Linked DNA regions of Homo sapiens: regions 1, 3, 4 and 5 are each linked to region 2. The links are contacts of gene promoters, found by promoter capture Hi-C in human tissues and cell types (Jung and others, 2019). All regions are on one chromosome and are shown on one strand. Each heading gives the region's core, a stretch centred on a gene start or on the middle of the fragment in contact. The rest is flanking DNA. Distances are from core to core; before and after follow the strand shown.

Region 1 (2,700 bases), core at 135-2,634, 1.4 Mb before region 2:
GGATTATCAAAGAGCATGAAGAAACTTTTGGAGGTGAGGGTTATGCTCATTATCTTAATTATGGTGATGGTATTACAGATGTATATGTAAGTCAAAACTCATCAAAATGTACATACTACATTTGTGAAGTTTACTGTACGTCAATTACACTTCAATAAAGCTCAAAAAAAAAAAAAACCTTTCTCCAAAGAGAAATTAAGGGCCAGACGCAGTGGCTCACGTTTGTAATCCCAGCACTTTGGGAGGCCGAGGCAGGTGGATCACTTGAGGTCAAGAGTTCGAGACTAGCCTGTCCAACATGGTGAAACCCCGTCTCTGCTAAAAATACAAAAAATTAGCCGGGTGTCATGGCAGGTGCCTGTATTTAAGGCTACTCGTGAGGCTGAGGCAGGAGAATCGCTTGAACTTGGGAGGCAGAGGTTGCAGTGAGCCAAGATCATGCCACTGCACTCCAGCCTGGGCGACAAGAGTGAAACTCCTGTCAAAAAAATAAATAAATAAATAGAAATTAAGGAAACAATCTCATTTACAATAGTTTCAGAAAGAATGAAATACTTAAGTACAAACTTAACCAAGGAGGTAAAATGTCTGTACACTAAAAATTATAAAACACTGATGAAATAAGTCAGACACAAATAAATGGAAAGATATTACATGTTCGTAGACTAGAAGAATGTTGTTAAAATGTCTATACCACTCAAAGCAATTTACAAGTTCAATGTAATCCCTATTAAAATTCCAATGACATTTTTCACAAAAATAGATTTAAAAATCCTAAAATTAATAAGAAATTACAAAAGACCCTGAATAGCCAAACCAATCTTGAGCAAGAACAAACGTGGAGGCACCAGACTTTCTGACTTCAAGTTATATTACGAAGCTACAGTAATCAGAGAGTATGATTCTGGCACAAAAACAGACACACGGACCAATGGAATAGAATAGAGGGCCCAGAAATAAACCTATAAAGTTACCTAGAAGGTCAACCAATTTTCAACAAGGGCACCAAGAATATACAATAGGGAAAGGGCAGTCTCTTCAAGAAAATGTTGTGGGAAAACCAGATACCCACAGGCAGAAGAATGCACTTGAACCCTTATATGACACCATGTACAAACATTAATTCAAAATGGATTAAAGACTTAAATGTAAGGCCTGAAACTGTAAAACTCCTAGAACAAAATATATTTTAAAAGCTCCTTGACATTGGTCTGGGCATGGTATTTTTGGATATTGACACCAAAGTCAAGGCAACAAAAGCAAAAATGAACAAGTGAAATTATATCAAACTGAAAAGCTTCTGTACAGAATAAAAAAAGTTCAGCAAAATGAGAAGGCAACCTATGTAACAGCAGAAAATATGTGCAAACCATATTTCTGATAAGGGGTTAATATCCAAAATACACAAGGAACTCATGAAACTTAACGGCAAAAAATCAAATAGGTGCTTATCATGACTAATCATCAGGGAAATGCAAATCAAAACCACAATGAGAAAGCACTTTATGCCTGTTAGGATGGCCATTATTTAAAAAAACAAACAAACAAACAAAAAAACCATCATCAGTGAAGGTGAGGATATGGAGAAAAGGGCACCCTTGTACACTGTTGTTCGGAATGTAAATTGGTACAGCGTGTTGCGGGAAGTCAGGGACCCCAAACGGAGGGACCGGCTGAAGCCATGGCAGAAGAACGTGGATTGTGAAGATTTTATGGACATTTATTAGTTCCCCAAATTAATACTTTTGTAATTTCTTATGCCTGTCTTTACTGCAATCTCTAAACATAAATCGTAAAGATTTCATGGACACTTATCACTTCCTCAATCAATACTCTTGTGATTTCCTATGCCTGTCTTTACTTTAATCTCTTAATCCTGTCAGCCAAGGAGGATGTATGTGGCCTCAGGACTATGTGATAATTGCGTTAACTGCACAAATTGTACAGCATGTGTGTTTGTGCAATATGAAATCTGAGCACCGTGGAAAAAGAACAGGATAACAGCAATTGTTCAGGGAATAAGAGAGATAACCTTAAACTCTGACCGCTGGTGAGCCGGGCAGAACAGAGCCATATTTCTCTTCTTTCAAAAGCAAATGGAAGAAATATCGCTGAATTCTTTTTTCTCAGCATGGAATGTCCCTGAGAAACAGAATGCGCACCTAGGGGTAGGTCTCTGAACTGGCCCCCCCGGGGCGTACCTGTCTCTTATGGTCGAGATTGCAGAGGTGAGATAGACTCCAGTCTCCCATAGCGCTCCCAGGCTTATTAGGAAGAGGAAATTCCCATCTAATAAATTTTGGTCAGATCCGTTATCTCAAAACCCCGTCTCCTGATAAGATGTTATCAGTGACAATGGTGCCCGAAACTTCATTAGCAATTTTAATTTCGCCTCGGAGCTGTGGTCCTGTGATCTCGCCCTGCCTCCATTTGCCTTGTGATATTCTATTACCCTGTTAAGTACTTGATGTCTGTCACCCACACCTATTCGCACACTCCCTCCCCTTTTGAAAATCCCTAATAAAAACTTGCTGGTTTTTGTGGCTTGTGGGGCATCACGGATCCTACCAACGTGTGATGTCTCCCCCAGACACCCAGCTTTAAAATTTCTCTCTTTTGTACTCTGTCTCTTTATTTCTCAAGCCAGCCAATGCTTAGGAAAATAGAAAAGAACCTACATGATTATTGGGGCAGGTCCCC
Region 2 (2,700 bases), core at 59-2,558:
TAGTTAACAATTGTTGAATAAAAAGTTATCAGTGGAATAGCCAGTCTCTGTAATAAATGCATATTGGTAAATTTTCTCTGAGCCAAGTGTACAGTTTGTAAATTTTCTTTCTGTTATGTTTGTTCTGATTGTTTATTAAGTATAACTTTGGGTCTGTCAAATTAAATATTTAAAAGTAAGCTTACGTTTTGCATAGTTGTTTTTAAATTTCACTTTTTCTTTCTTTTTCTTTTTTTTGAGACGGAGTCTCGCTCTGTCGCCCAGGCTGGAGTGCAGTGGCCACAATCTCGGCTCACTGAAGCCTCAATCTCATAGGCTCAAGCGATCCTCCCACCTCAGCCTCTCTACTAGCTAGGACTCCAGGCATGGGCCACCACGCTCAGCTAATTTTTAAAAATCTTTTACTTTTTGTAGAGATGGGGGTCTCGCTATGTTGCCCAGGGTGGTCTGGAACTCCTGGGCTCAAGAGATCCGCCCTCCTCGGCTTCCCAAAGTGCTGGGATTACAGGCGTGAGCCATTGCGCCCAGCCTCGAATAATTTAATTTTAATGTTAATTTAGTAAGTATCAGTCACGGACAGATTGGAAAAAGAAAAACATCTGATCCCTCATCTTGATAGTGAGTAGCACTGGTTTACACAGCTAGGCTGCTCCTTGAAGGCTGACACTGCATTTTATTCAAATTTTCCTGACAGTGGGACTTAGGCAATTATATATTGAATAAATAAATGAATTTTCACTCTGCTGCTGGGTCCAGTGGTCTCATAAAATGTCTATCATAATTTCTCAATGATTAGCCTTGGTAACATCTACTTAAGTTTATTAAATGCCAGGATCCACGCTACGCCCTTCACCATTCATTCCCCAGCCTTCGCTCCCACGGTCTCTGTGGGGATGGGGCGTGCCCAGCACTACGGCCCGCCCTACCTATGCATTCGTTGGTCGAACTCGACGCCCGTTACTGCCGAGTCCCGCCCAGGCCTTGCCCCCTCGTAGTCGGCCAGGCCGAGAGGAGGCGTGGCCACTGCCGCGCCGGGGCGGTCTGGCGGAGGGGGGGGAGGTCTCCCCTCGTCTCGTGATACTCTGGGCGAGCTCGCGGGCGGGCTGTGGGTCGCGAGCCGCCGTGGGAGCGCGTGTCGCGGTCCCCAGGAGCCGCCGGCCGACGCTCCGCCCCGCCCCCTTGGCGCCCAGGTCCCGCGCGAGCTCGCGCACGCGCGCGCGCGCACCCGCCAGAGGCTTGTTTGAGGCCCGCGGGGACTGGGCGGGCGGAGGCCGGGCTGCCGAAGTGTGAGGGGAGGAGCCCGAGCCGTCGCTGCTGCCGCCGCTAAGGGAGAGGAGCATGTCTGCAACTCGAGCCAAGAAAGTGAAGATGGCCACCAAATCATGCCCCGAGTGCGACCAACAGGTGGGTGCCGGGGGCCGGGCGCGCGGGCGGGCGGCAGTGGCTTGGCGGCCGTTGTCTGTGGAGGGGGGCCTCGCCGGGCTCCCGGAGGCCGAGCGGTGGGCAGATCCTGGGGCCCGCCGGCGGCGGCGGGGATCCGGGGCCGGTCGGGCTGCACCGAGGGGTTTCCCGGGAAAAGCCCGGGGCCGTGGCCCGCCAGCGTCCACCTGGCGGCGGCCAGACGGCCAAGCCCCTTCTTGCTGTGTCCCGGCCACTGGAGGAGCGCGCCTTTGGTGGGCTCACCGGGCGGCTGTCTGGAGCCCCAGACTCTCCTCGCCGGCGGCGGTGACAGCGGTGGGAGCCTGCGGGCCGCAGCCCCGGCGAGAGTGTGCCGCACGCCCGCCTCCGAGGCCAGGCCCTAGCTCCGAGAACCCCTCCTGCGGCCGGGGCGGCTTTGTTCCCGGTTCCGACGGGTGCGGGGCTTCCCCAAAACGGCCCCTCCGCGACCGGGGCGGGCGCCTGAGTGGGACAAAGGGGGCCGCGTGTAATGATTTTGAGTTTCGGCGAATTTGGAGATTTTTTCCCCTTCCTCATCTATTTATTATATTTTTGCTGTGCAATCGCGAATCCTGCCTTTACATCGTTTTTAATGGGTCATGATTGAATAAAGCCCCTGTTTAAGCCCTTCCTCCTTTTTGGGCGCTCCTAACTTCCCCACCCCTCGCAGTATCCACTGTTACAAATTTGGCCTGTCTGCTTCCAGATCTGTATCCCTGTCTGTCTGAATGTCTCTGTGTGTCTCTCTCTCTCTCTCTCTCTCTCTCTCTCTCTCTCTCTCTGTCTGTCTCTCTCTATCTCTCTATCTCTCTATCTCGTTTCTTGAATTTGAAACGATTCCTTTCTACATTGAGTTCATGGTGTAATAGTTGTAATTTAAAACATCTCATTTCAGTGATCGCTGTGTTGAAGCGTGTCTCAATTCTTTACTGGAATAATAGACATTCCTTTAAGCCTTAACATCTAATGAGTTAAAACTACTTCAGTTAAAACCATTCGTAAGGCCCTCGTTTGTTACCAACATGTAGATCTGGGTGTGTTTTTTCCTTTTCCACTGAGTGGATTTTTTCAAAATGACTACCTTTCTCTCCTCCCCTCCCCCCACCGCCTTTTTTTTTTTTTAAATCAAGAGTAATTTGAAATGGCTGGAGACTTTTTAATAAGCTGATTTTAGTGCATTTTTCAAGGAGAATTCTTGTAGGTTTTTCAAATCTTTTAACAGAAAACATGTTACATGTTTTATTAAGTATCCTTTATGGGCTG
Region 3 (2,700 bases), core at 181-2,680, 1.7 Mb before region 2:
AAAAGTTAGTTTCTTATTAAGTGGAGAACTTTCATCTATGCATTTAAAGGAAGCAATTTATTGCTTCTCTTTGGCGTGTCCAAATTGCCAACGTTACTACTCTTGTATTTTGGGATCGTTATTAAGTAAAATAAGGGCAACTTGAAGATGGCCACCTAGATACTGCTACAGTCGATCTGATAACCAAGGCAGCTACTGTCTGTTGGGCAGGTAGTATATACAGCGTGGATATACCAGACAGAGGAATGATTCCAATACTGGATAGCGGAAGATTTCACTGCACTGCTTAGAGGGCACAATTAAAAATTTTTATGAATTGCTTATTTCTGGAGTTTTCTATTTAATATTTTCATAACATGCTTGACCAAGGGTAACTGAAACCACACATAAGGGGGGACTCACTACTGTACCTGTTGGCCATTTGTATATCTTCTTTTGATAAATGTGTCTATTCAAATCTTTTGCTCATTTTTTAATTGGATTGTTGTCTTGCTCTTGTTGTTTTGAGTTCCTTTTATATTTTTGGATATTAACCTCTTATGTGTATAGTTTGCAAATATTTTCTCTCATTCTGTAGGTAATCTCTGTTGATTGGCTTCTTGCTTGTCCAGAGGTTTTTATTTGATGTAATTCTGTTAGTCTATTTTTGTTTTTGTAGCCTCTGCTTTTGTGGTTGTATTTTAAAAAAATCATTGTCCAGACCAATGTCGTGAAGCTTTTCCTCTATGTTTTCATCTAGTAGTTTCATAGTTTGGAGTCTTAACCTTTAAGTCTTTAATCCATCTTTAGTTGATTATTGTATATGATGCGAGATAAGGATCTAATATCATTCTTTTGCATGTGGTTGTATACTTTTCCCAATATATTTATTGAAGAGATTGTCCTGGGATATCATTCCATTTATTTGTGTCTTCAATTTCTTTTGTCAGTGTTTTCGTTTTCTGTGTAAAGATTTTTGAACTCCTTGGTTAAATTTATTCCTAAGTAGTTCACTGTTAGTTTAGAAACACTACTGATTTTTGTGTTGATTTTGTATTCTGCAACTTTATGGAATTCAATAATTCTGGGGGTTTTTTTGGTGGACTGTTAGGGGTTTCCTATATAGTAAAATCATGTCATCTGGGAACAGTTTAACTTTTTTCTTTCTAGTGTGGATGTCTTATATTTCTCTTGCCTAATTGCTCTAAAACTTTGAATACCATATTGAAAGAGCGGGCTTCTTTGTCTTGTTCCAGATCTTACAGGAAGAGCCTTAAATTTTTCTTCACTGAGTATGTTATGAGTTGCAGATTTATCATATGTGGCATTTATTGTGTTGAAGTGTTGGGATTTTTTTTTTTTTATCATGAAAAGGCATGGGATTTTATCAAATGCTTTTTTGGCATTCATTGAACTGATCATATGGCTTTTGTTTTTCATTCTGTTAATGTAATGTATCCTGTTTTTTCATTTGCATTTGTATTTGTTCAGCCATCCTTGCATTCCTTGGATGAATCCTACTTGATTATAGTGAATGATCTTTTTAATGTGTTATTGAATTCTCTTTGCTATTACAGTAGTCTCTTGTCATTTGTGGGTGATTGGTTCCAGGATCTCTCACGGATATGAAAATCTGCAGCTACTCAGGTCCCTGGTATAAAATGGTATAGTGTTTGCGTATAATCTATGTATATTTTCCTGTATACTTAAATCATCTTGAGATGATTTGACCTCCTTGACCTACTTATAATGCCTTATACAATGTAAATGTGATATAAATAGTTATATTGTATTCTTTAGGGAATAATGACAGGAAAAAAGTCTGTACATGTCCAGGACAAATGTAATTTTTTTTCTGAGTATTTTCAATCTGTGGTTGGTTGAATCCATGGATGCGGAAACCACAGATAGAGAAGGCCAACTATATTTTGTTGAAGGTTTTTGTATCTGTGTTCATCAGGGATATTGGCCTGCAGTTTTCTTTTTTTGTTTTATCCTCATCTGGTTTTGGTACCAGGGTAATGCTGGCCTCAAAAATGAATTTGGAAGTATTTCCTCCTCTTCAGTTTTTTGGAAGAGTTTGAGAAGAATTGACATTAGTTCTTCTTTAAATGTTTGGTAGAATTCAGCAGTGAAGCAAGCCATCAGTTCCTGGGCTTTTCTTTGATAGGAGACTTCTTATTACTGATTTAGTCTCACTCATTATTAGTCTCTTCAGGTTTTCTATTCCTAATTCAATCTTGGTAGGTTGTATGTGTCAAGGAATTTATCCATTTCTTCTGAGTTATCCAATTTGTTCGTGTATAATTGTTCATAATAGTTTTTTGTGATCTTCTGTAAATCTGCAGTATCAGTTGTCATATCTACTTTTTCATTTCTGATTTTGTCTCCTCTTTTTTCTTAGTCTAGCTAAAGGGTTATGAATTTTTAAAACCTTTTCATAAACAACTCATTTTATTAATATTTTCTATTTTTATAGTCTCTGTTTCATTTATTTCTGCTCTAATCTTTCATTTATTTCTAATCTAATCTTAATTTCCATCTGGATTTTGCCATGTTGCCCAGGCTGGTCTTGAACTGAAAGTGGTGTGTTGATGTTCCTTACAGTTATTGTATTATAGTCTATCCCTTCAAATCTATTAATATTTGCCTTATGTATTTGAGTGTGTACATATATATATATATGTATGTATAGTTGTTATACTGTCATGCTGAATTGAC
Region 4 (2,700 bases), core at 6-2,505, 1.5 Mb before region 2:
AGACTTAACTCTAATCACAGCAAATAACTGGGTATATGGCCTCTGGATTAGTCTTTCCCATGCCCTGCCCCTCTTGCCCACATTTTGATTCTTACAACTGTCAGGAGAATGACTAAAATGCTGACCACTTTTCACCTCTTTAAAAAAGCACAATGATATAATAAATTCACTATTTCATAGCCTAGTGGCTAAGAGCCTTGGTTCTGCAACCAGACTTCCAGGCACCTAAGTGCCAGTCTCGGCTCTACCCCACTAACCAGCTGTGTGACCTTGGGCCCCAGTTTCCTAATGTGTAAAGTGGGGTTAAATTATGGTAGATACTTAAAACCTTTAAATGGGGTACAGGTATGTTACCTGAAACAGTGCTTTGCTCATATCAGCATCCAGCGAATGTTAGCTACCATTATGCCTTCAGTACCATGTAGTTAACTGTTGCTAATTACTTTGAGGCACATGGCAAGATTCTGAAATTGCCTTCTGAATGGTGAAAGAGAATTTTGTGTGGTTTTTATGGGTACTGTAAGCCTAGAAAGTCAATGAAAATTTGGGCTTCACCCTTATCCCACCACTGATTCTGGATAATTTTGGATAAGAGTTTATTTCTGTTATCCATTTTCAGAAAAGATGATTGTGTAGTCTCTTCCTTACATAAATATCTTTTGAACTGGTTATAATGTGCTTGTGGAGCTTTTTTTTTTTGAGACGGAGTTTTACTCTTGTCACCCAGGCTGGAGTGCAGTGGCGTGATCTCGGCTCACTGCAACCTCGGCCTCCTGGGTTTAAGCGATTCTCCTTCCTCAGCCTCCAGAGTAGCTGGGACTACAGGCACGTGCCACCATGCCCGGCCAATTTTTATATTTTTAGTAGAGACGGGGTTTCACCATGTTGGCCAAGATGTTCTCAATCTCCTGACCTTGTGATCCGCCTGCCTCCCAAGTGCTGGGATTATAGGCGTGAGCCACCGCGCCCGGCCTTGCGTAGCCATTTTTATGGTGAAAGAGAACAACAGTTCAACCACAGATTTATATTCAAGTCTGTTCATTAGCATGTGTGCTTGGAAAAAGTGACTTTTATTCCATATTTAATGTTGTATGGTGAAAGGGTTACATTATAATATGTAAAAGGGCTCCCAATATCTTTCAAAATAAACGTGGCTGGACGCTGTGGCTCATACCTGTAATCCCAGCACTTTGAGAGGCCAAGGTGGGCGGATCACTTAAGGTCAGGAGTTCGAGACCAACATGGTGAAACCCTGTCTCTACTAAAAGTACAAAAAAGCCAGGCATGATGGCACACCCTATTAGGGAAGCTGAGGCAGAAGAATCCCTTGAACCCAGGAAGCGGAGGTTGCAGTGAGCCAAGATCGTATCACTGCACTCCAGCCTGGGTGACGGACTGAGACTCTTGGCTCAAAAAACAAAACATATTGGGTATATTCGTGGAGGTATATCATTTTGTAGTTTTACTATTAAGTGTTTTGATTATAAAGTTCATGTAGACTTTGGAAATTATAAAACTGCACATACAATTGAGATGTGTAATCTTAACTGTCCACTCAGGTGACATTTTTATTTTTCCAGTTTTTTTTATGTGTATGTACATATGCTCATCCTCTGTCACCCAGGCTGGAGTATAATGGTGCAATCGGTTCACTGCAGCCTCAAACTCCTGGGCTCAAGTGATCCTCCCATCTCATCCTCCTGCGTAGCTGAGAGTACAGGTGTATGGCATCATGCTTGGCTAATTAAATTTTTTTGTGGAGATGGGGTCTCGCTATGTTGCCCAGGCTGGTCTCAAACCCCTTGGGCTCAAGTGATCCTCCTGCCTTGGCCTCCTGAAGTGCTGGGATTACAGGCATGAGCAGCTGGCTCCAGCCACATGTTTATTTTCAAAGATATTGGGAGCCCTTTTATGTATTACCTTGTAGGCCTTTCATCACACAACATGGTCATCTGAGTGTTTCACCACTTTAATAATCTTGGAAAAATAATTTTTGTTAGTTTGAGGATTCACTGTAATTTTACCTAGGTTCTTGCTGGATATAAGTAAACCATGAACATACCTGTATGTTTTCTGTTTATATTCTTGGGATTATTTTTTACACACTTCATCATTGCTTTCTGGAGAGGTTCCAGAGGACACCAGTAACTGTGTGAAGTTTTCCATTTTCATTTTCACCTCATGTTTTGCTAATTTAAGCAAATTAAGGTAGTACATTTTGTGTTTAACAGTTAATAAGCTTGACATTTTAGTATTAACTATTTGCATTTGGGTCTTCATATTCTTAGCCTATAGAGGTAAGATCTATAGCCATATTTCTTGGTCCATTACACATTTGATTTATGAGGCATAACTCTTGTCCTGAAATTGCTTGTTATAACGAAGACTTCCTCCATTTCTTATTTTTGGTGTCTTTCAGGAGGCTGTACATGGGGTAGGTATGGGAGATACTTATTAACTTTGTTCTATTGCTTTTATACCCTTAAACTTGAAATTGTCCTATTTAATCATGGGCCAGTTTGGTGTGTTAATTTTTGGGGAACAGTTTTTCCTTTGTGAGTAATTTTTATTGTAATATGTATGATTTTAAGACCCACCTTTCTGCAAACTTCAAACGTATGTAAGTGGCTGTAGATAGCTTAGCTCACCAAAATAATAGTGTGCTGCCTCCAACCCCCAAAAGCTCTTCATATTTAGAAA
Region 5 (2,700 bases), core at 66-2,565, 1.7 Mb before region 2:
GGATTGGCTGGTGGGGAATCGTGGAACATCAAAAATGTCTTGATGGGGGTCACCCACCGATGAGGATCATGGGCCAGTTCTTCATCTGGGAAATACTGAACATGCCTGCATGCTGCTGCTTCTTCCTGCCCACGGCAGCGCCAATGATTCTCAGCAGCTCCTGCTTGGAGGCCCCAGATCACAGTGATCCCGTAGAGATACCTCAGAGTTTCCAAAGAGGCAGACCTTGAGGTTCCCGTCAGCTGTGATTTGCAGGTGGTTGCAGGTCCCACAGAAATGCTCAGACATGGACATGATGAAGCTGATCTGGCCTTGGAAGCCAGGGATTTTAAAGGCCTTGGCTGTCCTGGATTCCTGCTCTGACAGCTTCTCCAACTCTGGCCACAGCTGCCATACAGTTTCTAGCATCTCCTTATAGCGACCATCTTCTTGAAGTTCCACTTGTTGCCATCAAAGGGCATGTACTCTATGAAGGCCACGTCCAGGGGGAGGCCCTTGATCAAGGCCGCAAAGTCCAGGAGTTCATCCTCGTTAAGGCCTCGCGTCACCACACAGTTCACCTTCACAGGGTTGTAGCCTGGCTCATTGGCCTTGTGGATGCCCTCCATGACCTTGTGGAAGCCTTTCCTGCGGACAATGAACTCAAACTTGGCAGGCACCAGTGTGTCCAGGCTGATGTTGATGGCGCTGAGACCAGCCCTCTGAAGCTGGGGCAGCAGCCGGGCCAGGTTGATGCCATTGGTGGTGACACCAATGGTCCTCAGCCCTTCCAGTCGCTGGAGCTGGGCCACAATGTCCACCTCGTCCGGCTGGATGAGCGGCTCTCCGCCCATGAGCCAGATCTTTTCGACGCCTTCCTTCACAAAAAGCCAGGCGAGGGTCAGGATCTCTTTTGTGGTCAACATCTCTTCTGTGGTCAGCAGGTTGGCCTTGGGGGTCAGCGGGACCCCTTCCTCCGGCATGCAGTACTGACATCTGAGGTTGCACTTCTCCGGGAGGGAGATCCGCAGGTAGCTGTGCTGCCCGCCGAAGCTGTCTGTGAGGAAGGCGGAGAAGGGGGCCTCGTGCTCCCGCGAGAACTGCCTCCACCTGGACAGCTCCTGTGAGGCAGCTTGCGGGGACTCGCCCGGGCGGGGCGGCATCACCGGAACCCGTGAGCTGCAGCTCCGTGGCGTTGGACCTTAGGAGCCGGCGCAGCATCCGGGACAGCGGCCGCGCCACCGTGAAGCCTGATCCCGGCAGAGCTGCGGCCCTCAGCCGGCTTCGGGAGCACACTGGCCGGGCAAAAGCGATTCTCCTGCCTCAGCCTCTTGAGTAGCTGAGATCACAGGCATGCACCACTACGCCCGGCTAATTTTTTGTATATAGAGTAGAGGTGGTGTTTCACCATGTTGGCCAGTCTGGCCTCGAACTCCTGACCTCAAATGCTCTGCCTGCCTCGGCCTCCCAAAGTGCTGAAATTACAGGGGTGAGCCACCGCGCCAGGCACATCTACTTTATGTTTCTATAGATTTACCTTTTCTGGACATTTCATACAAATGGAATCACATAATATGTAACCTTGTATGATTGGCTTCTATCACTTAGTGTAATGATTTCAGGGTTCATCCATGTCGTAGCGTGTGTCAGTGCCCCATTACTTTATGACAGCTGGTCATAAAGTAATGTATGCATAGACTACATTGTATGTATAGACTACATTTCGTTTATCCGTTCATTAGTTGGTGGACATTTACACTGTTTCCACCTGGGGCTATTATGAATAACGCTGCTGTGAGCGTTCATATATAAGTGTTTGTGTGCACATATGTTTTCAATTCTTTTGGAGATATATATACAACTGTTTTTATTCATCCCTTTATACTTCCTGTTATGAGAGATGAGGATTTAGCTTGTTTACAGTATTCTCTTTCCTTCCCATCTCTATCCTACCAGTAATCTATTTTTCTTCTTCCTTTTATTACATTCGTAACTGTAGTAATTGTGATTGATTTTCACTCAGATAACAAAAACCTGCCTACAGCAGCTTAAACACACAGGGAGAAATTTGTACTCACTAAACAAGTCCTGCTTATTGTTGGTTCAGCTGCCAAAAACTGCCAGCAGGGACCCAGTTTAAAATAAAATAAAAATTTAAATAAATTTTTTATTTTATGCCTTCCCTGTCTTTCCTGTCTGCCATCCTTAACAGGCTAGTTTTTATATTCATGCTTGTCTTCATTTGATTACAAGTTGGTGGCCACAACTCCAAACATCACAGCTTCATACAAACAGGAAAAAGAGGAGAGTAGGCAGGAAACAAGAGCTATGTCTGTCACCTTTCATCAATAAAGTACAAGCTTTCTTAGACCTCCTCTCACAAACCCTCTAGCAAAGCAAACTTCCACTTAAATCTCACTGGCCAGAACTAAGTCACATGACCACACATAGCTGCAAGGGAACCTGGAAAAACCTACAAGAAACTGGATTGACTAATTGGCTTATATCAATAGTTCTCAACCCTCGTTACATATTAGAATCTCCTAGGGATATTTTTAAGTGTACGTCTCTGAACATGGTCTTATCCTAGGGTCAGTGGTTCTCAACCAAGGGTAAGTTAGCAATGTTTGTGTACAGTCTTGATCCTTGTAACTGGGGGCGAGGTGCGCCCACCATTAAGTGGATAGAGGCCAGGATGGTGTAAAACACCCTACAACACAC

Evidence for each region. Contacts are between HindIII fragments. The study calls those that stand out against the background at their distance.
Region 1: a contact is called between a fragment that was not itself captured here and the fragment with the promoter of C16orf87 in region 2, in 1 of the 25 tissues and cell types used here (dorsolateral prefrontal cortex).
Region 3: a contact is called between a fragment that was not itself captured here and the fragment with the promoter of C16orf87 in region 2, in 1 of the 25 tissues and cell types used here (spleen).
Region 4: a fragment that was not itself captured here is called in contact with the fragment with the promoter of C16orf87 in region 2 in 1 of the 25 tissues and cell types used here (dorsolateral prefrontal cortex).
Region 5: a contact is called between a fragment that was not itself captured here and the fragment with the promoter of C16orf87 in region 2, in 1 of the 25 tissues and cell types used here (dorsolateral prefrontal cortex).

The regions. Positions count from the first base shown.
Region 1 is chr16:48,263,805-48,266,504 of GRCh38, reverse strand. The region is part of intron 6 of LONP2 (lon peptidase 2, peroxisomal); the gene reads right to left. Among named protein-coding and RNA genes, the nearest start is that of ABCC11, 18 kb to the right of the region's middle. The HindIII fragment of the contact is 4,072 bases long and covers 1-2,700 here.
Region 2 is chr16:46,829,788-46,832,487 of GRCh38, reverse strand. C16orf87 (chromosome 16 open reading frame 87) reads left to right here and starts at 1,308. Exons shown (of 4, transcript NM_001001436.4): 1 at 1,308-1,404. The coding sequence starts at 1,339. RefSeq lists a silencer at 962-1,611. The HindIII fragment of the contact is 8,650 bases long and covers 1-2,700 here.
Region 3 is chr16:48,579,891-48,582,590 of GRCh38, reverse strand. The region is part of intron 1 of N4BP1 (NEDD4 binding protein 1); the gene reads left to right. Among named protein-coding and RNA genes, the nearest start is that of N4BP1, 29 kb to the left of the region's middle. The HindIII fragment of the contact is 7,549 bases long and covers 1-2,700 here.
Region 4 is chr16:48,357,716-48,360,415 of GRCh38, reverse strand. It overlaps a transcript of LONP2 not described here. Among named protein-coding and RNA genes, the nearest start is that of SIAH1, 26 kb to the left of the region's middle. The HindIII fragment of the contact is 5,602 bases long and covers 1-2,700 here.
Region 5 is chr16:48,495,191-48,497,890 of GRCh38, reverse strand. It overlaps the pseudogene MOCS1P1. Among named protein-coding and RNA genes, the nearest start is that of SIAH1, 110 kb to the right of the region's middle. The HindIII fragment of the contact is 4,156 bases long and covers 1-2,700 here.